Regions from separate parts of the Homo sapiens genome. Here region 1 is linked to region 2. The links are contacts of gene promoters, found by promoter capture Hi-C in blood cells and fetal thymus (Javierre and others, 2016). All regions are on one chromosome and are shown on one strand. Each heading gives the region's core, a stretch centred on a gene start or on the middle of the fragment in contact. The rest is flanking DNA. Distances are from core to core; before and after follow the strand shown.

Region 1 (6,481 bases), core at 1,217-3,716, 270 kb after region 2:
GTCAGTCACATTCTGCCAAGTAGTTACAAAGCAAATACAAAGGTAAGTGGGCTTTTCCTGACACCCTGAGTTGACCAGGGCCTTCCATGCAAGGAAAACGAGGGACCCCAAGAGACTGAGACTGAAGAAGACGCACAGAGAAGAAAGGTGTACCTCATTCCACAGACAGACTCAGGTAGAGCCACTGGTTCTGAATCCTATGCCTATGCAGAAAATCTCTCTTCCCACATGTGAGCAGGGACAAGGGAACTAGTGAAGACGACAGAGTAGAGAGGGGATGGCTGTGCTCCACTGGGCTCACACTGCTTCTAAGTAGTCACACATGGATTCTCCAAAACAAAGCAGAGACGCGACTTCCGGTTACGGTGGAGTGAAGAGGTCAGTGGCTCCTTTCCCTCAGGGCAAATGTAAAACTGAACACAATTGTCAAAGGCAACCATTCTGAGGCTCTGGAAATCAGCCCAAGGAAAATACCGCGACACATTTATTCATGCAAATCAGCTAGAACTTCAAGGAAGAACAGCAAGTCTGGCTTTCTTGTCTGGGACTCTTTCCATTTCCTGCACCTGTACTCCACCCCTGACTCGGTCGGCAGTGGGCACAGGAGTTCTGTGACTGCAGGGATGTCAGCGCAAACCAACCCTGCTACCAAAAACAGCAGCCTGGTCAGGCAGAGGGTGAAGCAGTAAAAGCAGTGAACTTAGAAGGGAATGAATAGGGAAGCCTGCAGCTCTGTTCCCTTGAGACTGAGGTCCCAACTGGGGTGAGTGGCAAAGGAGACAGAAATCTAACAGAGAGAACCCTGGAAATGAGAGCGCCACGGAAGGGCTTCTTAAGCTGTCCACAACTCGCTGGCTGACCAGGAGAGCACAGTGCATGCACTGAGGACACCTCACGGGCTGGAGGAAGGGGCCAACACAGCTGACTTGAGAACTGGCTGAGTGCTGAGCGCATTCACCCCACAGCCAACAATGGAGCCCCTGTGGATTCAAGGTGCATGGGCAACCTCTGCCCAAATCATCAGCTGGCCAATCAGCCAGGTGGACAAAGGGCAGACCTCTAGAAGCCAAACTAAAAAGGAGAAGAGAAGAAGTAAGCTGAGACACCCACAGCCACATAATGTGGGAGATACAGGTCCTGCAACTGAAGCCCAGGAAATAACAAAAACAAGGAAACAAACAAAAGACAACAAAGGACCCTCAAGGGAAAAAATGATAATGCAAAATTATCACATTATTTAAAATGTCCAATTTTCAACAAAAAATTATGAGACAAGCAAAGATTAAAGAGAAGTATGACCTAGGCTGGGCGCAGTGGCTCACACCTGTAATCCCAACACTTTGGGAGGCAGAGGTGGGAAGATCACTTGAGCCCAAGAGTTCAAGCCTAGTCTGGGCAACATGGCAAAACCCTGTCTCTACAAAAAGTACAAAAACTATCCAGGCATGGTGGTGTGTGCCTGTAGTCCCAAGTACTTGGGGGGCTGAGGTGGGAGGATTGTTTGAGCCCAGGAGGTCCAGGCTCGAGGCTCCAGTGAGCTGTAATCATGCCACTGCACTTCAGCCTGGGTGGCAGAGCAAGACCTTGTCTGGAAAAAAAAAAGTGTGACCCACATGCAGGAAATAAATAGTCAAACGGTTAACAGGAGTGAGTTCAGATACTAAATTAGCACACAAAGATGTCAAAGCAGCTGTTATAACATGTTCAGAGAATTAAAGGAAAATATGAAAATAAAGATTCAACATATAGGGAATTACTACAAAAAAAGAGAAACAAAAAAACAGTAAAATATAAATTCTATAGGTGAAGAGTACAATAGCTAAACCAAAATTTCACTAAAGGGGCTCAAAAGCAAACTTAAAATGGCAGAAAAATCATCTGTGAACTTGAAGAAGAGCAATGGAACTGATCTAGGAAGAGAGAGAAGAGATGAGGGGAAAGTATGCAGACGCTCAGAGGCCTGTGGGAGAGCAGCCAGCACTCCAGCATGTGCAGAACCAAGTCCCAGAGGAAAGGGGGAAGAGCATCCAAATAACACCTGGACACTCCACTTCCCAAATGTGATGAGAAACATTGGTCTACAGATCCAAGAAGCTCAGTGAACCTTAAGATGGATAAAAACAAAGAGATACTGAGAGCTGCAGAACTCTGGCACACAATGACCACCTAAGGCTTCCTGCAGCCAAAGGCCAAGTCCCTAGGATGACCCCAGACCCTACTAAAACACCTTCTTGAGAAAGCCAGGCTGCCAGGAGAACTGACTGCTTGTTCTAACAGTCTGACAGCTGATGACTGTAACAAGAGTAACACTCTGGTGTGGAATTTGATAGTGGGAAGGCTGTGTGTGGGGACCCTGGGTATAGGGTGTCTCTGTAGCTCTCACTCAACTTTGCTGTGAGTCTAAAGCTATTCCTAAAAACAACCACTCTATTTATTATTTATTTATTTATTGTTGAGACGGAGTCTCACTTCTCGCCTAGGCTGGAGCGCAATGGCGCGATCTTGTCTCACTGCAACCTCTGCCTCCCGGGTTCAAGCAATTCTCATGCCTCAGCCTCCCAAGTAGCTGGGATGACAAGCACATGATAGCACGCCTGGCTAATTTTTGTATTTTTAGAAGAGATGGGGTTTCACCACGTTGGCTAGGCTGGTCTCGAACTCCTGACCTCAGGTGATCTGCCCGCCTCTGCCTCCCAAAGTGCTGGGCGTGAGACACCCCCATGCCTGGTCTATTTTTTAAAATGAAGGCAAAATAAAGACATTTACACAAAAACAGAATTAACTGCTAGCAAACTGGTCCTGTAAGACATATTAAAGGAAGGTAAAAACAAGACGGTAACTTAAATTCGGCAGAATTTAAAATGAAGAATGCCAGAAATGACTAGCCAGCTAGCAAATAGAAAACACTGTATAAATACAGGCCAGGCGTGGTAGCTCATGCCTGTAATCCCAGCACTTTGGGAGGCCAAGGCGGGTAGGTCACCTGAAGTCAGGAGTTTGAGACCAGCCTGGCCAACATGGCGAAATGTCATCTCCACCAAAAATACAAAAATTAGCCGGGTGCCATGGTGCTTGCCTGTGATCCCAGCTACTCAGGTGGCTGAGGCAGGAGAACTGCTTGAACCTGGGAGGTGGAGGTTGAAGTGAGCCAAAATTGTGCCACTGCACTCTAGCCTGGACAACAGAGTGTGACTCTGTCTCAAAAAAAGGAAAAGAAAAAGGAAAAGAAAAGGAAAAGGAAAAGAGAAAGAGAGAGAGAGAGAAAGAGAGAGAGAGGAAAAGGAAAAGAAAGAAAAGAAGGCAGGCAGGCAGGCACTGTATAAATACATTTTTCTCTTTTATTTGCTCTAGAAATTATAAAGCTGTATAAAGCAGTAATTAAAACATATTATTGGTTTGTAACATATACAAATGTAATTATATATAGGACAATAATAGTACAAAGGAGAAAGAAGGAAATGGAGCTCCTGCGGAGCAAAGTTTGTATATTTTACTGGAATTAAGTCAGTAGTAATCTGGAGTAGATTGTGATAAATTAAGATGCATATTGTGGGCGGGCGTGGTGGCTCACACCTGTAATCTCAGCACTTTGGGAGGCTGAGGTAGGTGGATCACTTGAGGCCAGTTAGAGACCAGCCTGGCCAAAGTGGCAAAACATTGTCTCTACTAAAAATACAAAAATTAGATGGGCGTGGTGGTGCGCATCTGTAATCCCAGCTACTTGGGAGGCTGAGGCAGGAGAATCACTTGAACCTGGGAAGCAGAGGTTGCAGTGAGCCAAGATTGCGCCACTGCACTCCAGCCTGGGTGACAGAGCGAGACTCTGTATCAAAAAAAAAAAAAAAAAAGATGCATATTGTGGCTGGGTACACTGGTTAAGTGTAATCTTAGCACTTTGGGATTTCCTGGCGGGAGAATCACTGAAGGCCAGGAGTTTGAGACAAACTTGGGCAACACAGGGAGACCTTGTCTCTACTAAAATTAAAAAACTTAGCCGGTCATGGCGGCACATGCCTATAGTCCCAGCTTACTAAGGAGGCTGAGGCAGGAAGACTGCTTGAGCCCAGGAGCTTGAGGTTGCAGTGAGGCATGATGATGCCACCCCACTCCAGCTTGTGTAACAGAGCAAGACCCTGTCTCTAAGAAAAAAAGAGATACATATTGTATTTTAATTTTTGTTTCTTTTTATTTTTTATAACGACATTCACAAGAGATGCATACTGTAACCCTACAGCAGCCACTAAGAAAATTAAAAAAAGAATCAACAGAAGAATTAAAATAGTACACTAAAATTTTTGTTTAATATTTAAAAAGGCAGATACTGACATATACAGGATAAAAATGCAAGGCCCAACTAAAAGATGTTAGACAAATTTTAGATTCAAAGACACAAAGAAACTGAAAGTAAAAGGATGAAAAAATACATGTACACAGTAACCCAAGAAGGTGGAGTGGCTATACTAACAAATAAAACGGACGTTAAGAAACACCAGTAGTCAAACATTTCATAATGATAAAAGGGGCAATATATCAGGGGAGCTATAACAATAATTCAATAACATCACCCCCAAATGCATGAACCAAAACAAGGAAGAATTGAAAGGAGAAGGAAATAATCCAACAGTTAAACTTGAAGGCTTCAATATGCCTCTCTCAGTAACCGATAAAACCACCAGACAGATAATCAGTAAGAATATATACTATGATCTGAGTATCTGTGCCCCTCCAAAATTCATATGTTGATAGCCTAACCTCCAAAGTGATGGTATTAGGCGATAAGGACTTTGGAAGGCTCTACTCTCAGGAATGGGGTTACTGTCCTTACATGGTAGCCTGGATAGACCAAGACAATACAGAAGACTTGAAGAATGCCATCAACCAATTTGATCAAACTTTCATTTCTTGAACACTCCACACAACAAGAACAAAGTTCAAATTATTTTCAAGTACACATAGAACAGGATCTAGGTAAACTATATGTTAGGCCATCAACAAGTCTCAATAAATTTGGAAGCTCTAAAATCAGTCATCTAAGCTTTTGTTTCAACAAACTAGAAAAGGAAGAGCAAGCAAAACCCAAAGAACATAGAAAGAAATAATCAATTTCAGAATGGAAACCAATGACACAGAAACGAAAACAGAGAAATTGACAAATCTTTAGCCCAAGTGACTGAAGCCGTTAAAAGGAAGATAAAATTACCCAAATCAAGAATTAGCATCACTGCAGGCACTGCAGAATTAAAAAGGATTATAACAGTATAGAATAACTTTATGCCAACACATTAGACAATTTAAATGAGTAAATTCCTACAAAGACAAAAATTATTGAAATTCACTCAGTAAGAAATAGGAAATTTGAAAAGACCTATTACAAGCAAATGAAACTTGAATTAGTAATTACAGATCTTCCCACAAAAAGAGACCAGGCCTACAGGATTTTGCTGGTGAATTCTATCAAATATTTAATAAATCTCAATCTTAAACAAACTCCTTCAGAAAACATAAGTGAAAAAAACATTTCCTAACTCATCCTATGAAGCCAGTATTACTCTGATACCAAAGTCAGACAAAGACATCACAAAGATAGGAAACTACAGACCAATATATTTTATTAGTATTAACACAGATGCAAAAATCCTAACAAAATATTAGCAAACCAACTCAGGAACACATGAAAAGGATTATATACCACCGCCAAGTGGGAGTTATCCCAGGAACACAGGTTGATTTAATATCCTTAAATCAACTGATGTGACACACCACGGTAACAAAATAAAAAACGAAAACCACAAGATCGCAACACATGCAGAAAAGACATTTGAAAAACTGAACAATTCAATATTCAATACAATTCAATATTCAAATCATGAAAAAACTCAAGAAATTAGGAGTAGAATAGAATTTCCTTAACCCAATAAAGGGCATCTATGAAAAACCTATACTTGATATCACATTTAAAGAGTGGTCAAAGATTAAATGCTTTCCCCCTAAGATTGGGAACAAGGCAAAGATATCTGCTTGCAACAATTCTATTCTGTACTGAGTTTCCAGCTAGCTCAATAAGGCAAGAGTAAGGAATTAAAAGCACTCGGGAGGCTGAGTCAGGAGAATGGCATGAACCTGGGAGGCAGAGCTTGCCGTGAGCCGAGATAGCACCACTGCACACCAGCCTGGGCAACAGAGCGAGACTCCGTCTCAAAAAAAAAGAAAAAGAAACTGAAATTAAAAGCATCCAGACTGGGTATGGTGCCTCACACCTATACTCCTAAAACTTTGGGAGGCTGAAATGGGAGGATGGCTTGAGGCCAGAAGTTCAAGACCAGCCTGGGCAACATAGTGAGACCCTCTCTCTACAGAAAGTTTTTTTTTAAAGCTGGGCGTGGTGGCGCATGCCTGTAGTTGTAATACACCTGTAGTCCTAGCTACCTGGGAGGCTGAGGCAGCAAGACTGCTTGAGCCCAGCTGTTTGAGGCTGCAGTGA
Region 2 (6,816 bases), core at 1,674-4,173:
GATGCAGTTTCAGGTCAGAATCAGAAGATGTGCAAGTTACGCATGACACAGCTTTTTAAAGTGCTTTTCCCCTGCACTAATCAAGAGGGAGGTCAGCCCTCAGGTGTGCTGGACCCGGGAGGGACTGTGAGCTGTAAGAAGTAACGAGCCCCTTGAACTTCACAAGCTGGCCAGGGAGCCATATCCCGAATGCCACTGCCACTTCCTCGTGGTGCAAGGCTTGTTGGGACCTGCCACCTTGCTGAGGGAGGTGCTGAAGTAGGTGGTTTCCCTGTTCCAATGCGGTATGCGGTCTTGCAGGCCGAGGCATTCCCCAGGGGATGACGGAGCCCCCGCTGGGCTACAAGCCAGGGCAAACACTGAACTTGTGTCCTTAGCCGGCATCCCAGGAAAGAAGGCCGGGGTCAAGTTCACACCTCATGAGATCACAGTGACCAGCCCTGCCCAGGCTGCCCTGGTACGTGCCTGAAGCATCGCGGAGGTCACATCTAGCCACGGTGACCGTGGTGAGATGTAAGGATTAACCAGACTACGACTGGGGAGGTGAGGAAGGTGACAAGGACCCAGTTCCAGCTTCTAACGGGGTGTGGGATCTTTGAGCAAGGAAGAAGATGCTAGGGAGAATGAGTCTGGCTTTGTTCTTGTTGGGAGGTGTTCAAGCCATGGCTGGACCAGAGCATGAGCCATCCTCAGTGTGAGAGGCAGTTACTGCCGCGGTTGGGCTGCCTGGTAGGCCTGGAGCTCAAAATGAGTCAGTCTCTCTCTGGAAAGCGCAAGACAGAGACAGCGCTGGTGGCAGCTGGGCTGAAGCCAGCAGCTTGGAGATGAGGCTCAGGCCCTGACGGGGGAAATCTTACCCAGCCTCCCCAGATGGCTCAGAGACAGGTCTGGCAGGTGCACGGATCCACAAATCTAGAAGAGTCTGGGGTTGTCACATCCACCAACTAGGCTGGCTGTCTATATACACTTTGTCACTGTGTAGGCCCAGGATTTCACCCATCTACAAATTTTCTCTGCCACACGGCTACTGCCACTTTAATTCACCAAGCCAAGCCTTTGCACTCAGGACCCTGGCCCAACCCTCTTTGGCCAAGCAAAGAGGAAACGAGAACAGGACAGAAAAAAAAGTGGGACCGGACCAGGCACCTGGCTGTCCATTGAGGCCTTGCTATGCGATCCAGGACGGAAGGTGCCGGCAGCAAGCTCATACACTCTAGCTGCGTGTCATGTCATTGAAGAGGGCGCGTGATCCAGCTGGAAGGGTGGATAAAAGTGTAACTGCCCAGTGGGTTCACCTTCCCTGTTACCTAGACAGCCAATTTATCAAGAAAGGGCATTTGCAACAGAGAAAAGGTAATTCACGCAGAGCTAGCTGTGTGGGAGACTGGAGTTTTATTATTACTCGGTCTCCCTGAGCATCTGGGGTTTGGAGTTTTTAAAGATAAGCTGGTGGGTGGGGGGCAGCCAGTGAGTCAGAAGTACCCATTGGTCAGGTCAGAGATGAAATCACAGGGAGTCGAAGCTGTTTTCGCACTGAGTCAGTTCCTGGGTGCCACAACATCAGATGAGCCTGGGTGGTGCCAGGTGACCCACCAAGTGCTGATCTTAGGCTTTACGATGGTGATGTTATCGCCAGGAGCAGTTTGGGGAGGGTCAGAATCCTGTAGCCTCCCGCTGCGTGACTCTTCAACCGTAGTTTCTAATCTTGTGGCTAATCTGTTGGTCCCACAAAAGCAGGCTAATCCCCAGGAAAGGTTTCCTTTGGGAAAGGGCTGTTATCATCTTTGTTTTAAACTAAGTTCCTCCCACAGTTCAACCTGCGTGCAGCAGTAAACAAGGAGGGCATGGAGGTTAGAAGCAAAATGGAGCTGGTTATCTCACTGTCGGCAAATTTTGCAATGGCAGTTTCATAGAGATGCCTGTCCTCTGGGAAAAAAGCTAATAACAGGTTGTCTTTTTGGCTGCAGGTGGAAAACTGCATCTATTAGGAAGAGGTGGGGCTTTGTTCTTACCCACAATTGGAAGTTCTCTATGGAGTAAAGGCGGTATGTGTGCCACCTGATTCCTTTCCCCATGTGTATCTGGTTAGGGTCGGCCACGTGAGATCCGCAAGCATTTTAGAAGGTGGGAGGGGAGGTGGGAGCTGGCTACAGGCCAGGCGTTGGCGTGGTTCCGTGAGTGTGCTCCAGCCAGGCCCAAAGCTTCTCCTGCCCAGAGGGACCGTTTCCTCCAGCGTGGGTCGGGTGCTTCTGCGCCCGGAAAGAGCGCCAGCTCCTCCTTCGGGTGACCCAGGGAGCGGGGCTGCAGGCAAAGGCGCAGGCGGCCAAAAAGGTGCCAACCGGGTCCTGTGGCTTTCAGTTGTCTCTGCCCACCCAATTCACACCATCTTTCCCCCTCAGCCGCCTGTCCTGGGACTTCAGGCTCAGCACCAAACGCAGCAAAAGTAGGTGCACAGAGAGCGGGGTCAGCTCACGCAGCCCGAGCAGAATGGCTGTGCTGCCGCCCCAGGCCCGCGGCCACCGCTGTGTGTGTGGCAGGAGTCAGCCCCCCAGCGTGGGGCCCCGAAGCCCGCGGTCCTTCCACGGGGAGGGCCAGGCCCGCAGGGCGCAGACGATGGGGGACAGGCTGCGCCAGCGCTCGCCTGAGGCCCCGCACACAAACCTCAGGCCCATGGGTCCGCTCCGCGGGGCAGGCGTCGTGGGCCCAAGGAGGCCAGGCCAGGAGTCTCGGCCTCGGGGTTACGCGGCGGCGGGCAGCTCTTCCGCTCCGCTCAGGGTGCTGCTAACCCACAGCCAAGCAGCGACCCGCAGGACCGGCGAGAACCCCGCCACTGACTCCGGCCGGAAGAGAACGTGCAGAGATGTACGTCACTTCCGGGGCGTGGCGTGGCCGGGCGTGGCCGTCCCGCCCCTGGCGGCGTGCCTGGTGCCCTGTTCCGCGTCTGTGCGACCGTCCGTCCCGAGCGCGCAGCCGCGGCAGGTGCGGGGCGGGACCGGGGGCGCCCGGGGTGGGGGGCGTAGGGGGCGCTCGGGTTGGGGGTGGGACAGGGGACGCGCGGGGTGGGGGAGGAGACGGGACCCGGGGTACGCGGGGGTGGGGCGGGTGAGAGGTGCGCAGGGTAGGGGAGTAGGGGGCGCGCGGGGTGTGGGGCTGGACCAGGGGCGCGCGGGGTGGGGGCGGTGGGAGGCGCGCGGCGTGGGGGTTAGAGGGCGCGCAGGGTGGGGGACGGGACCGGGGACGCGCAGGGTGGGGGGCGGGACCGGGGGCGCGCGGGGTGGGGGCGGGACCGGGACGCACGCGGGATGGCGGAGTGGGAGGCGCGCGGGGTTGGGGGTGCTCCTGCGTCCGGTGTGCACCCCATGGCCCCCGCCAGGGAGACCGAGTCCGGGCCAGGGGCCGGAATCGCGGGGCGCGGGCCGGGGCTGGGGTTGGGGTTGGGATCGGGATCGGGATCGGGATCGGGATCCGGGTTCCCCGCGGCTTCAAGTTTTCTCTCGCTGTTACGAGGGCGTGGGAGGCGCGGCCGTGGGGTGGGGTGGGGCCAGGTCCGCGATGTGCTCACCCTGGTCTCTCAGGACCGTTGCCTTTGCGGCTATTTTTTGTGCAATCCCCGAAGCCTGCGTTTCCTGCTGCCTGGGTTCGGGGCGGGGGCATCGCGCAGGCCAGAACGGCCCCTGCGTCCGTAGGCCAGAGCCCCTGCCATCAGCCCCTTTAGGGTGCTCGCCGGCTGTCGGGTGTGGGGGTATGCCAGGCCCCGGAGGACTCGGCTTCCCCGCTAACCCGACCCGCCGCACCCCACCCAGGCCAGGTCAGAGCAGCCCACCATGGGATGGGGAGGGGGTGGAGGCTGCACCCCGCGCCCACCCATCCACCAGCAGCCGCCGGAGCGCCGCGTGGTCACCGTTGTCTTTCTCGGCCTCCTGCTGGACCTCCTGGCCTTCACGCTGCTGCTGCCCCTGCTGCCCGGGCTGTTGGAGAGCCACGGCCGTGCCCACGTGAGTCCTTGCCCTGCGGCCCACAGTGCCCCCTGCCCCCCAGGCCCATCAGACCTCCCCAGCCCTTATCGTGATTCCTCATCCCCTAGGACCCCCTCTATGGCTCCTGGCAGGGCGGGGTGGACTGGTTTGCCACCGCCATCGGGATGCCAGTGGAGAAGAGGTACAACAGTGTCCTGTTCGGAGGTATGGCTGGCTCTGTGCCCTTGGCGGGCTCTCTACGGTCCTATGTTTGGTGGACGTGGTCCAGCCCAGGCCCCTCCCCAATTCTCGGTCCTTGCCTTCCCACTCCCTGGGCTGGCATGTCTGGTGCCCTTGCCCACATGTCCTGGCTTCTGGGCATGATCCCTTGCCTCCGCGTGTCACGTTCAGATCCTTCCTCATCTCTCCATTGGGGCCCCCTCGGCTCAAGGGCCATGGCCTGTGAGTGTAGGGCCCAGCATGACTGGACCCTCAGGACGGGGCTGGACATTGGCCTTGAGGGCCCCAAGACCACAGCTCATGGTGCCAGGCAGCCCCATGATGGTGACATCTGTCTCTCAGGTCTCATTGGCTCGGCATTCTCTGTCCTGCAGTTTCTGTGTGCGCCACTCACTGGGGCCACCTCTGACTGCTTGGGGAGGCGCCCGGTGATGCTGCTGTGCCTGGTATGTTCCTGGGCCTGGGTGCCCATGGGGAAGCCTCCTCCCACCCAGCCAGTAGCCCCATGGGGTTAGGTGGGGAGAGGGAGGTGGCTGTGGGCCCCTCATGGCCACTGGTTGGCCCTCATCGCATCCTGGAGGGGGTTCTCGGGGGACCAGTGGCTCCTGTTCCAGAGCCAGGCTTTCAAGGAGCTGCTCCTGGCCCCTAGGAAGGCACTGAGAACGCAAGTGGCCCTCAGATGCTTCGAAATAGGGCAGGGTTGAGGGGTGTTGTCTGGGTTGCCAAGCCCTACTCTGAGCCACTCCTGGCCTTAAGCGACCGCCCCTGCCTCTTGGCCCCTGCCCCTGGGCAGATGGGTGTGGCCACCTCATATGCAGTCTGGGCCACCTCTCGGAGCTTTGCGGCCTTCCTGGCCTCCAGGCTGATTGGGGGCATCAGCAAAGGGAACGTCAGCCTCTCCACGGCCATCGTTGCTGACCTGGGCTCGCCTCTGGCCCGCAGTCAAGGCATGGTAAGTGCACAGGCTGGGCCTTTGGGGTCCTGGTGGTGACTTCTGGGCCTGGGTCTCCCTGTGCAGCTCGGGTGGTCTTTTCCCTAGGCGGTCATTGGGGTGGCCTTCTCACTGGGCTTCACCCTGGGCCCTATGCTCGGAGCCTCCCTGCCCCTGGAAATGGCACCCTGGTTTGCCCTGCTCTTCGCAGCCTCCGACCTGCTGTTCATCTTCTGCTTCCTGCCAGAGACGCTGCCCCTGGAGAAACGGGTAGGGCTGTGGTCTGGGACCCACAGGCCTAGGGGCTGGAGGCTTGATTCCATAGCGATGTAAAGTGCCCCTGTGTGCCAGCCCCAGATGCCAGGGAGGCTGGGCCGCTCTCTTGGTGTTGGGACCCTTGAGGCCACAGTCCGTGGGTTGCCAGGCCAGCAGCCGCTCCTGCAGGCTCTCCAATGCCATCCCCACAGGCGCCCTCTATCGCCCTGGGGTTCCGTGATGCGGCTGATCTGCTCAGCCCCCTGGCCCTGCTGCGCTTCTCGGCTGTCGCTCGTGGCCAGGACCCACCCTCTGGAGACAGTAAGGACTCGACCAACCCAAGCGTGGAGCCTGCTCTCCCCTGGGCTTCCCCGGGCGGCGCCCTTCCCTGCTGTGGTCGCCTTCTCAGCACGCGCCACCTCTCCCCAGGGCTCAGCAGCCTGCGCCGCCTGGGCCTAGTCTACTTCCTCTACCTCTTCCTGTTCTCGGGCCTGGAGTACACGCTGAGCTTCCTCACACACCAGCGCTTCCAGTTCAGTAGGTGGGTCCCCATCTGGCGACGGCCTGCTGTCTCCCTGAAATAACGCCCCTGCTTCAGGGAAGCAACCCCCATCCCCAGGAAGCCTTGGCAGCCACTCTCGCCCTGGCCCTGCCCTGGGTGGCCCTGCCCCGGGTGCCCTGCACTAACACACCCGCTCCCAGCCTACAGCAGGGGAAGATGTTTTTCCTCATCGGCCTCACCATGGCCACCATCCAGGGTGCCTATGCCCGGCGGATCCACCCTGGCGGGGAAGTTGCTGCCGTGAAGCGGGTAGGGGGCTCCCTCCAAAGCGGGTGGCAGGCAGTCCCCTGAGTCCTGCAGGGCACGGGCTGTGCTGAGGCTGCCGTGCCCACCTGCAGGCCCTCCTGCTGCTGGTGCCCGCCTTCCTCCTCATCGGCTGGGGACGTTCTCTGCCCGTGCTGGGCCTGGGGCTGCTGCTCTACTCCTTTGGTGAGTGGCCCTGCCCTGGCAGGGGATCCGATGGGCAGCAGGGGCTGGGTGATGCACCCTCCCCTGGGCTGACGGGCACCTCCTCGATGTCTCCCACCAGCCGCCGCCGTTGTGGTGCCCTGCCTGTCCTCCGTGGTCGCTGGCTATGGTGAGCCCCCTTCCCTCGGCCGAAGCCACCTGAGCGGGAGAAGGGCAGTGGTGCCTGACTGTGCCTCTTCCCACAGGCTCACCAGGGCAGAAGGGCACGGTCATGGGTACACTGCGCAGCCTAGGTGCTCTGGCCAGGGCCGCGGGGCCCCTGGTGGCCGCTTCAGGTGAGGGCGCGGGATGGTGCTGGGGCAGGCTGGGGGCCAAGCACCTGCCCTCGCCTCCCAAGTGCCAGCCCCCTCGGGGACTGGGTGACGCCACCGTCTCTCCGCAGTGTACTGGCTGGCCGGGGCCCA

Evidence for each region. The method cuts DNA at HindIII sites, captures the fragments that hold promoters and counts their contacts. A CHiCAGO score of 5 or more calls a contact.
Region 1: a contact is called between a fragment that was not itself captured here and the fragment with the promoter of SLC75A1 in region 2, in 1 of 17 cell types (total B cells). The highest score is 5.8, in total B cells.

Annotation. Positions count from the first base shown.
Region 1 is chr4:2,665,581-2,672,061 of GRCh38, reverse strand. The region is part of intron 12 of FAM193A (family with sequence similarity 193 member A); the gene reads right to left. Among named protein-coding and RNA genes, the nearest start is that of TNIP2, 88 kb to the left of the region's middle. RefSeq lists an enhancer at 310-854. The HindIII fragment of the contact is 5,143 bases long and covers 1-5,037 here.
Region 2 is chr4:2,930,932-2,937,747 of GRCh38, reverse strand. SLC75A1 (solute carrier family 75 member 1) reads left to right here and starts at 2,923. Exons shown (of 13, transcript NM_001146069.2): 1 at 2,923-2,979; 2 at 3,804-3,995; 3 at 4,085-4,181; 4 at 4,539-4,642; 5 at 4,990-5,148; 6 at 5,236-5,397; 7 at 5,595-5,703; 8 at 5,812-5,923; 9 at 6,085-6,193; 10 at 6,283-6,373; 11 at 6,474-6,521; 12 at 6,598-6,687; 13 at 6,795-6,816. The coding sequence starts at 3,825. NOP14-AS1 (NOP14 antisense RNA 1) reads right to left here and starts at 2,202. Exons shown (of 4, transcript NR_015453.2): 1 at 1-2,202. RefSeq lists enhancers at 1-373, 844-1,083, 886-2,085, 3,343-4,210, 4,303-4,432 and 3 more and silencers at 2,474-2,583, 2,744-3,053, 3,283-3,502. The HindIII fragment of the contact is 5,918 bases long and covers 2,204-6,816 here.